Linked DNA regions of Homo sapiens: region 1 is linked to region 2. The links are contacts of gene promoters, found by promoter capture Hi-C in blood cells and fetal thymus (Javierre and others, 2016). All regions are on one chromosome and are shown on one strand. Each heading gives the region's core, a stretch centred on a gene start or on the middle of the fragment in contact. The rest is flanking DNA. Distances are from core to core; before and after follow the strand shown. Region 1 holds the start of LOC124902031 (a long non-coding RNA gene). Region 2 holds the start of TSNARE1 (t-SNARE domain containing 1).

Region 1 (4,600 bases), core at 1,957-4,456, 900 kb after region 2:
GCACGCACCCACAAACACAGGCACACACGCACACCTGCTGTCCCCACAACACAGACAGACCCTAGAAAGGATGCTGTGGACACTGGAACCATTGTGACCTCAGGGGTGAGGTCAGGCCTGCCAGGGCGGGGGAGGGCCAGTGCCGTAGACAGGGCCGGCCCACAGGCGTGAGGCCAGAGTTAGTGGTGAGCTCCTGTGGGTCTGCACTGCACCCCAACCATGGACAGGCAGTGTTCTGAAAGGCCATACAGCTGCACCCCGACGGGTAGAGTGTCGTCAGCCGTGTCCCAAAACTCCAGGTCAGCTCAACCCCAGCAGGGACCCCCTGACCCCCCCCCACCGGTACTCAGCCTCCTCATCTGTCAGGGGAGCCTCCCTGCAGGCCATCCAGGGGCCCCTGTGCTGAGGAAGGAGGGTCCTGCCCCCAGGAGCAGCCTGCAGGGGTTGGAGTGGGGATCAGGTTGGAGGAGAGGAGGTCAGGAGGGCGGAAGCTTAAACTGGAGTGAGGGCCTTGCCCACATAGCCTGCACCTGTGTGAGGGCCAGAGGGACCATGGCCTGTGTTGCCAACAGTGCCTGCAGGCTGTGTGAACGGGTCAGTGAATGGATGGACAGACCGTTCACCTGCTTCTCTGGGCCTCGGCTTCTATTCAGCAGAATTGAGATGATACCACAGCCAGAGTTTCTGCAGAGATTTAAGGGACATGAATAAAGGAAGGTTCCTCCACAGCCTTCCAGGGTCCCCAGGGAACCCCAGTGTCCCAGGAACCTGGAAAGACACAAAGGGCATCTCTACCTTCCTGTGTCTGATACGCAGGTCAGAGCTGTCTGGCCCCCAGCCCAGAGCCCTGCCCGCCCCCTCTATGGGGACTCAGAGCAGGTTCTGCTGTCCAGACACTCGTCCACCCGGGCTGGGGCCCACAGCCAAGCCATGGGTTCAGAGCAGGATTCCCTGTTGCAATCCACGCTGCCTACGGTGGCTGTTCCAGGAATGTCTTGGTACCTGCCTGTGAACTCAGGTATTTCCGGCTCTCGCAGTCCACGTTTGAATGTTGTCAGGCCTCCCTTCTCTGCCATAGCTTCTGTTGCTGCTAAGCCAAGAGTACTCCTCTGCAGATGTTTGCTAATAGTGTGTTCACATCGTTTTTCTATTTTTAAAAATGCATTTAACTCTGGAAGCCACAGGGGCTGTGATGTGGGTTTGGAGGGGCAAGGTACAGGCCTCGCTGGTGCCTGCGGCCCATGCTGTTACCACTGCTGTGCCTGGGGGAAGCCGGGCTCTAGCTCCAACGGGATCCTCACTCCCACTCCCAGAGTGGGCCCCAGCCAGGTTTGTCTGGAAGGTCACCCTTTCCAGGATCAGGGAACTGGCTAGTTTTCTGAGAGGCCACAGGAAGGAGGCGGCTTCCAGAAGGGGTAAACTGTGTCTTGACCTCTCAAGGTCAAGAGAGCAGGGTCTGAGGGCCTCCCCAGAGCTGCCCTGGCCCTGAGATGCCAGGAGATGTCAGAACACGTGATATCTAGGACGGAGGCTCTAGAGCTCTTCAGACAGCAAAGCTCAGATGTGCAGAAATGCAGCTTCTCAGGCAACTCCAACCCTCTGCTGCAGTTATGGGATGGAGAAGCCTGGTGGGTATCCTCCTACAGCCCTGGCAAAGGGACAGAAAGAAAGGAGGAGAAGGAGACATGCTCTGGGCAGAGGGGCCAGGGAAGCAGAGCCTCACAGGGTCCACCAGAAGGCATTTGGGAAGCTGGATCTGGTGTGATGATTACAGGGGACAGACTGGATCCTGGAGAGGTGGGAGGGCTGTCACAATGCCATGTCCAAGGTCAGGACAGGGCCGGTGGTGGCTCTGGATACATCACCTGCTATGAAGCTCTCCATTCATTCTGCCAGTATTTGCTGAGCACCTGCTACGTGGACCAGGTGTTCTAGGTGTCGGGGATACTGCTGGGAACAAAAGAGATAAAGACCCTGCCCTCATGCCTTACATTCCAGGTAGGGAGACCTGCCAGTGAGACCAGAAGCAGGAAAGTAAAGGATATGATGTTACAGGGCAAAAAGTGACACGGAAAAAAGAGAGGGTGGGGAGGGGGAAGTGTGGGGTGAGGATTTAAATCAGTTCTTCAAGAAGGTGACAACTGAGCAAAGACTAAAATCAGGTGAGGGACTGAGCCAGGCAGCCATCTGAAGGAACGGCATTCCCCAGACGGAAGGAGTGGCCACACAAAGGTCCAGAAGTAGATGTGCACCCGGTGGTGGGAGCACCCCACCACTGGAGTGGAATAAGCAAGGGAGAGCAGAAGGAAATAAGGGCAGAGAGACCATTTTTGTTCTTATGTGTCTTTTTTCTTTTCGATTACAGTATGATTTACAGATGACAAAATTCACTATTTTTAGTGTATAGCTTTCAAATTTTGACAAATGTATATAGTCATGGACTCACCATCACAAACAAAATATGGCGGTGGGTACAGGATGCCCAGACAACTCCATCTCCCAGACACTCCCTCCCATCCCTTTGTAGTGAACTCTCTCCAACTCCCAGTCCCAGGGAACCACTGACCTGCTCTCTGTCTGTAGTTTCACCTTTTTCAGAATGTCATAAAAATGAAATGACACCAAATGTAGCTTTTGGAATCTGGTTTCCCTCCTGGAGCATCCATGTTTTTGTGTTTATCAGTGATTCACCTCTTTTGTTGCTGAGTAGCATTACTGTGAGTGTGACATGGTTTGTTTATACATTCCCAGGGTGAGGGACATTTGGATTATTTCCATGTGGAGATAGCATAAATAAAGTCAGTATAAATGTTTGTGTATATATTTTAGTCAGTAGTCATTTCACTTGAGTGAATGCCTAGGAGCGGGTAGCTGAGCCATTTGGTAAGTGTACATTAGACTTTATTAGCAAATACCAGGCTATCTTCCAAGAGGGCTGTGCCACTGTGCATTCCCACCAGCAATGTATGGAAGCTCAGAGCTATTCTGCAACCTCACCAGCACTTGGTATTTCCAGTGTCTCTGATTTTAGCTATTTCAGTAGATGTGTAGTGATAGCCCACTGTGGTGTTAGTTGGTTTCCCTCGTGAGAAATGTTGAGTGCTTTTCAGGTGCTTCTTTGCCATCTGTCTGCCTCCTCTGATGCCTTGTCCCAGTCTCCTGCCTGTGTTTCCTTAGGCCGCTTGCGCTTTGCTTTGTTTTGTTTTGAGAGTTCTTTCTATATTCTGGAGATAGTCCTTTATCAGATATGTGATTTGCAAATACTGCCTCCAAGTCTGCAGCTTATCATTTTTTAATGCATATCCCTTAATCTAAATAAAAGAGAGGGGGACCAGGTGCAGTGGCTCATGCCTGTAATCCCAGCACTTTGGCAGGTGGAAGCAGGAGGATCATTTGAGCCCAGGAGTTCAAGACCAGCCTGAGCAATATAGAGACAACCTGCCTCTATAATAAAAAAAAAAAAAATAGGCAGACATGGTGGCATGCATCTGTAGTCCTAGCTACTTGGGAGGCTGAGGCAGGATGATCTCTTGAGCCCAGGAGTTTGAGGCTACAGTGAGTGAGCTATGATTGTGCCACTGCACTCCAGCCTAGGCAACAGATCAAGTCTCTCTCTAGAAAACAAAAATAAAATAAAGACAGAGGGGATCTCTAAAAGAAAATGATATTTATTCAGGAATGGGCATTGCAATAGTAATACGTGTGCCATAGTAAACCACATGCCTATTCAAGGCTGGGGCAAGGGTAAGTTTTTAAAGGCAAAATTAAAATGATTGATTATATAAGTTGTTCTGAAATAATAATTCTTGGCTACAAGGGTCAATAACAAGGCTGGGGTGAGTCCTAGGTTGGAAAGACAGTTTTCTGGGTAGATGACCTCACAGAAGTATTTGTGTGTGTGTGTGTAAGGTTGCAATTGGCCTTTGTGCAAGGTTGTGGGTTTTGCAGAGTCTTTTGTGATCGTTCTTGCAGTCAGGCATTTGTGCATGAGAACCATTCCTTTAAGGCTTCCTCCAGCCCCATTTATCAGAGTTTTAACACAGTGACTCCATTTTGATTCCAACATGTTTCACGTATCTTTCAAAAAGCAGAAGTTTTTAATTTTTATGAAATCAAATTTATCATTTCTTCTTTTATATAGTGCTTTTGGTGTCACATCTAAGAAATCTTTGTCTAACCCAAGATCATAAAGATTTCCTCCTATATTTTCTTCTGAAAGTTTTAGAAGTTTAGGTCTTACTTTTGGGTCTATGATCTTTTTGAGTAAATTTTTCATATGGTGTGAGGTATGGATTAGGGGTTATTTTTTGCATGTGTCTGTTCAATTATTGCAGCAACATCTGTTAATGCTTTTTTAATAGAGTTGCTCTTGCACACTTATCAAAAATCAGTTGAAGCCAGGCACAGTGGCATGCATCTATAGTCCCAACTACTCAAGAGGCTGAGGCAGGAGAATTGCTTTAGCCCAGAAGTTTGAGACTGCAGTGAGCTATGACCACACCACTGTACTCCAGCCTGAGCAACAGAGTGAGACCCTATCTCTAAACAAAACAAAACAAAAATAATCAATTGACCTTATATGTGTGGGCCTTTTTCCGGA
Region 2 (4,384 bases), core at 348-2,847:
CCAGACTGACAGCTCTCAGACAGGCATTGGTCCTGGCGAACCTTCCCCTTCAAGTGGAAGCTGGGGGGTCAGCAGTCATGGGCATCCTCCCTGGTTAGGAGCCGGCTTCCCTGCACTCTAGCTGTCCTAGCCGAAGAGTGAAGCCCTGTCCAAATCATGGCGAGGCTGCAAGACAGGCACACACTACTGCCTCCTGGGAGCCCAGGGGAGACTGAAATACACCAAGGCAAGGAGCGTGGGTGGGCCCAGGACAGGCCGGCCTGAGCACCAGCCCAGGAATGCTGGTGGGCATGTGCCCCTCTTCCCTCCCACCCATGTGTGCACACATTTGTGCCATATACTACCGTTCCCATGTTTGCGCCTGGGCACACACTTGTGCCAGCATACACACACTTGTGCACTTGCACCTGGTGTCCAGGAACACTCCCTCAGCTCACAGACGTGCGCTGTGTGCACACAGTACCACGCAGTGTCCACGAGCACACTTTTGTGTTCGTGTTCACAGAACCCGTGTGCGCACACATGCACAGTCCTGGGCTGCAGAGAACCCCAGCCAGCGGGGCGGTGGGGGAAGGGGAGGGCACGCCTCCTTCCCAGGAGCTCAGCAAGGCTGTCCGCGGGAGCCCAGGGCTGCCCGCAGGGCTTTGGCGTAGGCCTCGCAAGCACAGCAAGCATCACAGAGTGAGGGCGGCGGGAGAACCTCCGCTTGCCGGAGAAGGTGCAGCGGACTCATCACTCTTGCTCTCCTGCCTTGGGTGTGACTCTTGGTTCACCTCTGGGGAAACAGGCTGAAAGGTGACCCTGGCGGCCCAAGGACACACACCCATTGTCCGCAGGTTCCTCCCAGGTGTCTTCTCCAGCAGGTCACCGGGAGAGCGAGGGGCTGGAGTCTTTCGGGAGCTCAGTGCCCGCAGGCAGAGCAGGGAAAGGGAGGCGCCCCAGGCCCCTGCGGAAGGAGGTCCCAGGAGGGTCTCCGCAAGGGGCTCCCTACTCTGCACTTCAGCTCCTCCAGGGAGGGGCTGCGACCTCGGGCAAAGGTCCCTCAGATGTCTTGAGACTCAGTTTCCTCGTTGGTGACACTGGGAGTCCGGAGTCCCCGCGGGGCCTGCCAGCCCCCGGCCGAGCACGGCCCCACGCGGAGCCCGTGCAGCCTGACTTGGGGCCCAACGCCCGTCCCCGCAGCGCGAGACGCGCAGGTGCCCGGCCCTGCCCTGGCCGAGACCCGCCGCCTGCGCAGCCCCGCAGAAGCTCCAGCTTTGGCCCGTGTGAGGTCCGGGCTCGGCCTGGGCTGGGCGGAGCCCGCTCCCGAAGCGCCTCAGCGCCGGGCCGCCGCCCTCCACGTGACCTCCACCTTCGCCGTCATCCCCATATGCAAAACGGGGAAACGGGGAAACGGAGGCCCACCACCAGGCAAGTGAGGACAGCCGACTCGCGCGCGCACCCGCAGAGGCCTCTTGGCCCAGCCGACCGCCGTCCGCGCCGCTTCCGGCTCCGCGCCGGGGCCTCTGGGGCGGGTAGTCCCCGCGCGCGTCCGGGACCGGCGGCCATTGGCTGGTGCGGGAGGGGGCGCGCACGCCGGCGGCGGGAGGGGCCGTCACGTGATGTTTGGGTGCCCGCCCCGCCCGCCTCGCCCGCCGTGAGCGCCCGGAGCGGTCCGCGAGCCACCGAGGCCCAGGTGAGGCGGCGGCGGTGGGGCTGGGGCCTGGCCGGGGCCGGGCGTGGGGCGGCGAGGGCGAGGCGGCCGGGGACCAGCGCGGGGCCCGGAGCCCGGCGGGGGCCGCGGCGTGGCGTGGTATGGGGCTTGCGGGAGGCCGGGCGGGGGGCGGGGCCGCGCCGGTGGGGAGGGGAGGGGGCGGGACCGTGCCGGGGGTGGACCCCAGGGGCGCCAGGGACCCTGAGCCGCAGCCCCGCGAGAGCGCCGCATTTCGGGGACCGGCCCGCGGGCACATGAGCCCCTCGGCGGGTCCTCGCGCGCTGTTCAGACCCCAGGTCGGTGGGCTCTGGGCCGGGCAGCCGGTGCCTGCGCCTGGAGGTCAGTGCCGTCCCGGGGAGCGCCCCAGCGCCTACTTGCTGGGTGCAAGGGTTGGTGCCCTGCAGCTCAACGAGCGGAGCCCGCCTTCGAGCCTGAGCTGGGGACCCCGTTCCTGTGTGCTTGCCTCTCCATGCCTTTCTGTCCCTTCTCCAAGTTGTAAGAAGGTGCTTCCTGGGTACTGGGGCCTGCGACATCCCCACCAGGGACTTTCAGGTGATGTTGATCTGTGCTGCCCCCGCAGAAACTCTCCAGGGACCTCGTGTTTGTTGCCTCATGGCGCACTCCTCCTGCTCTGGAAGCTCTGCCATGTCCAGTGTGGTAGCCCCTAGGCATGTGTGGCTGTTTACATTGTCCTTAACGTGAAGGATTCAGGTCCTCCGTGCCAGTGGTCACATGTCCGACACTCAGTAGCCACACGTGTCTGGTGGCGGCTGTGTGGGGCAGCGCGGGTAGGGAACACTGCTTATCACAGGAAGTTCTGTGAGCGGTGTGGTGCGGCTCAAAATGGGCCTCGCGCGTGCTGCTCCGCCGGTGCTTCTCCGCCCCTCATCCTGCCAGGTGCCTTTCCAGCCACACCTGGCGCCCTTTCTTTCCTCTGCTGCACACTTGCCTCTTCTTTTAGTTCCTGGCTCGCTCCTGGCTTGGGGGCAGCTCCGCTTCCGGTATGTCTGAGCTCACCTTTCTGACCGCTCTCCCTACAGTATTTCTTGTTTGTCATTGTCACTCATCTGCTTGTTTTCTGTTTTATCTTTAGTGCCTGTGAGACAGGGGTGGGGATTGTTGCTTAGGATACTCCCAGTGTGGACACAGTATTGAGTTGAAAGAAAGCTGAAGTTTGTTAGTACTGGAGTGCTTCCCCCGACTGAACCGCTGCTTTCATACCGTTCGACCCCATACATCACAGGACCGCAGCAGAAATCTGGTAGAACAAATGTTTGGACACAGCAGCACAGGCCGTGAATGCAGGTGGCTGTGGGAGGCTGGCAAATCCAAGACGACTTCCTGGAGGAGGTTGAGTTTTGGCTGGGTCACCTCTGTTTCTCTCCTCCTCTGCTGGCCTGGCCCCATGAACATCTGGCAGCCTCTGGCTGCTCTGACTCTATCCAGGAACCTTCCCTGGACACTTCCCCTGAGTCTGGCCTTCTGTAGATGCTGGGTCAAGAGCCTAGACCTAGGCACTCAGTCTAGGGGCTCATGGGCAGCCAGGTGTCCCTAAGTCTCTTCCACAGCTCCTCATGGCCTGCAGAGCGAGGTCCTGGGTTTGGCTCCTGCCAGCAGCTCCTGCCACATCTTCAGTCCCTGCTTTATGTCCCTGACAGTGCAGTCATTTTTCCTGCATAGTCTGTGGCTTTTCTCACTGGTGTGCCTGTCGATGCAGAGCCTTCTGCTTGGAATGCCCTGGCACTCCCGTGTTTGTCTCTCCTGTGTGCCTGGGAGCCTCTGTGGCATAGACCTCTGCTGTGTCACCCTTGTGTCCTGAGCACCCCACCCAGCACCGAGAGTAGGATAAGCACCTAGCAGGTTTTGATGAATAAATACACTGGACACGTAAGACTTTGAGGAGAATGTGGTGAGAAGTACAGCTAGGTCACGATGCTGGAGCTTGAGATGGAATCAGGGAGTCACCTTCCAGGTGGGCGGAGTTGGGGAGTCACCTTCCAGGTGGGGAGGAAAGACAAACATGCCTCGACCATGGCTGTACCAAGCCATTCGCGACACGGCGTGGGTGCATCCTTCCACGGTCCTGAAAAGGGGTGGTGAGTGTCTGCAGGTGGTGACACTAATGATACTGGTCACAGCACCTCCTGGTGCCAGGTGACCAGGGAACTGTGTTCATTACTCAGTTTACTCTCACAGTCACCCTGGGAGGAGGGTCTGTTGTCCCCATTTCCCAGATGGAGAGACTGAGACACAGAATGGTGATCTTGCCGTGAGTCCCTCAACTGTCGGGTTCTAGGACGTCATTTGTTCAGCCCAGACAGACACATTTCTTCCGAGGTTGTTGGGCGTTTTATCCCTCTGAGTGGTGTTTGGCCATAAGAACAGTTGGCTAGGGGTTAGGCTGTCTTCTTCTTATTTTTATTTTTTGACACGGAGTCCTGCCTCAGCCTCCCAAGTAGCTGGGACTACAGGTGCCTGCCACCACACCTGGCTAATTTTTTGTATTTTTAGTAGAGACGGGGTTTCATCATGTTGGCCAGGATGGTCTTGATTTCTTGACCTTGTGATCCACCCACCTCGGCCTCCCAAAGTGCTGGGATTACAGGCATGAGCCACCGTGCCCGGCCCTTTTAATTTTTTTTGAGAAGCTTCCCTCTTGTTGCCCAGGCTGGAGGGCGTTGGTGCAATCTT

Evidence for each region. The method cuts DNA at HindIII sites, captures the fragments that hold promoters and counts their contacts. A CHiCAGO score of 5 or more calls a contact.
Region 1: a fragment that was not itself captured here is called in contact with the fragment with the promoter of TSNARE1 in region 2 in 1 of 17 cell types (endothelial precursors); the score reaches 6.3 in endothelial precursors.

Annotation. Positions count from the first base shown.
Region 1 is chr8:141,502,769-141,507,368 of GRCh38, reverse strand. LOC124902031 (a long non-coding RNA gene) reads right to left here and starts at 50. Exons shown (of 2, transcript XR_007061132.1): 1 at 1-50. It also overlaps MROH5. The HindIII fragment of the contact is 5,426 bases long and covers 494-4,600 here.
Region 2 is chr8:142,400,395-142,404,778 of GRCh38, reverse strand. TSNARE1 (t-SNARE domain containing 1) reads left to right here and starts at 1,597. Exons shown (of 14, transcript NM_145003.5): 1 at 1,597-1,675. RefSeq lists silencers at 699-748, 1,189-1,758, 1,899-2,038 and an enhancer at 692-1,467. The HindIII fragment of the contact is 6,879 bases long and covers 1-4,343 here.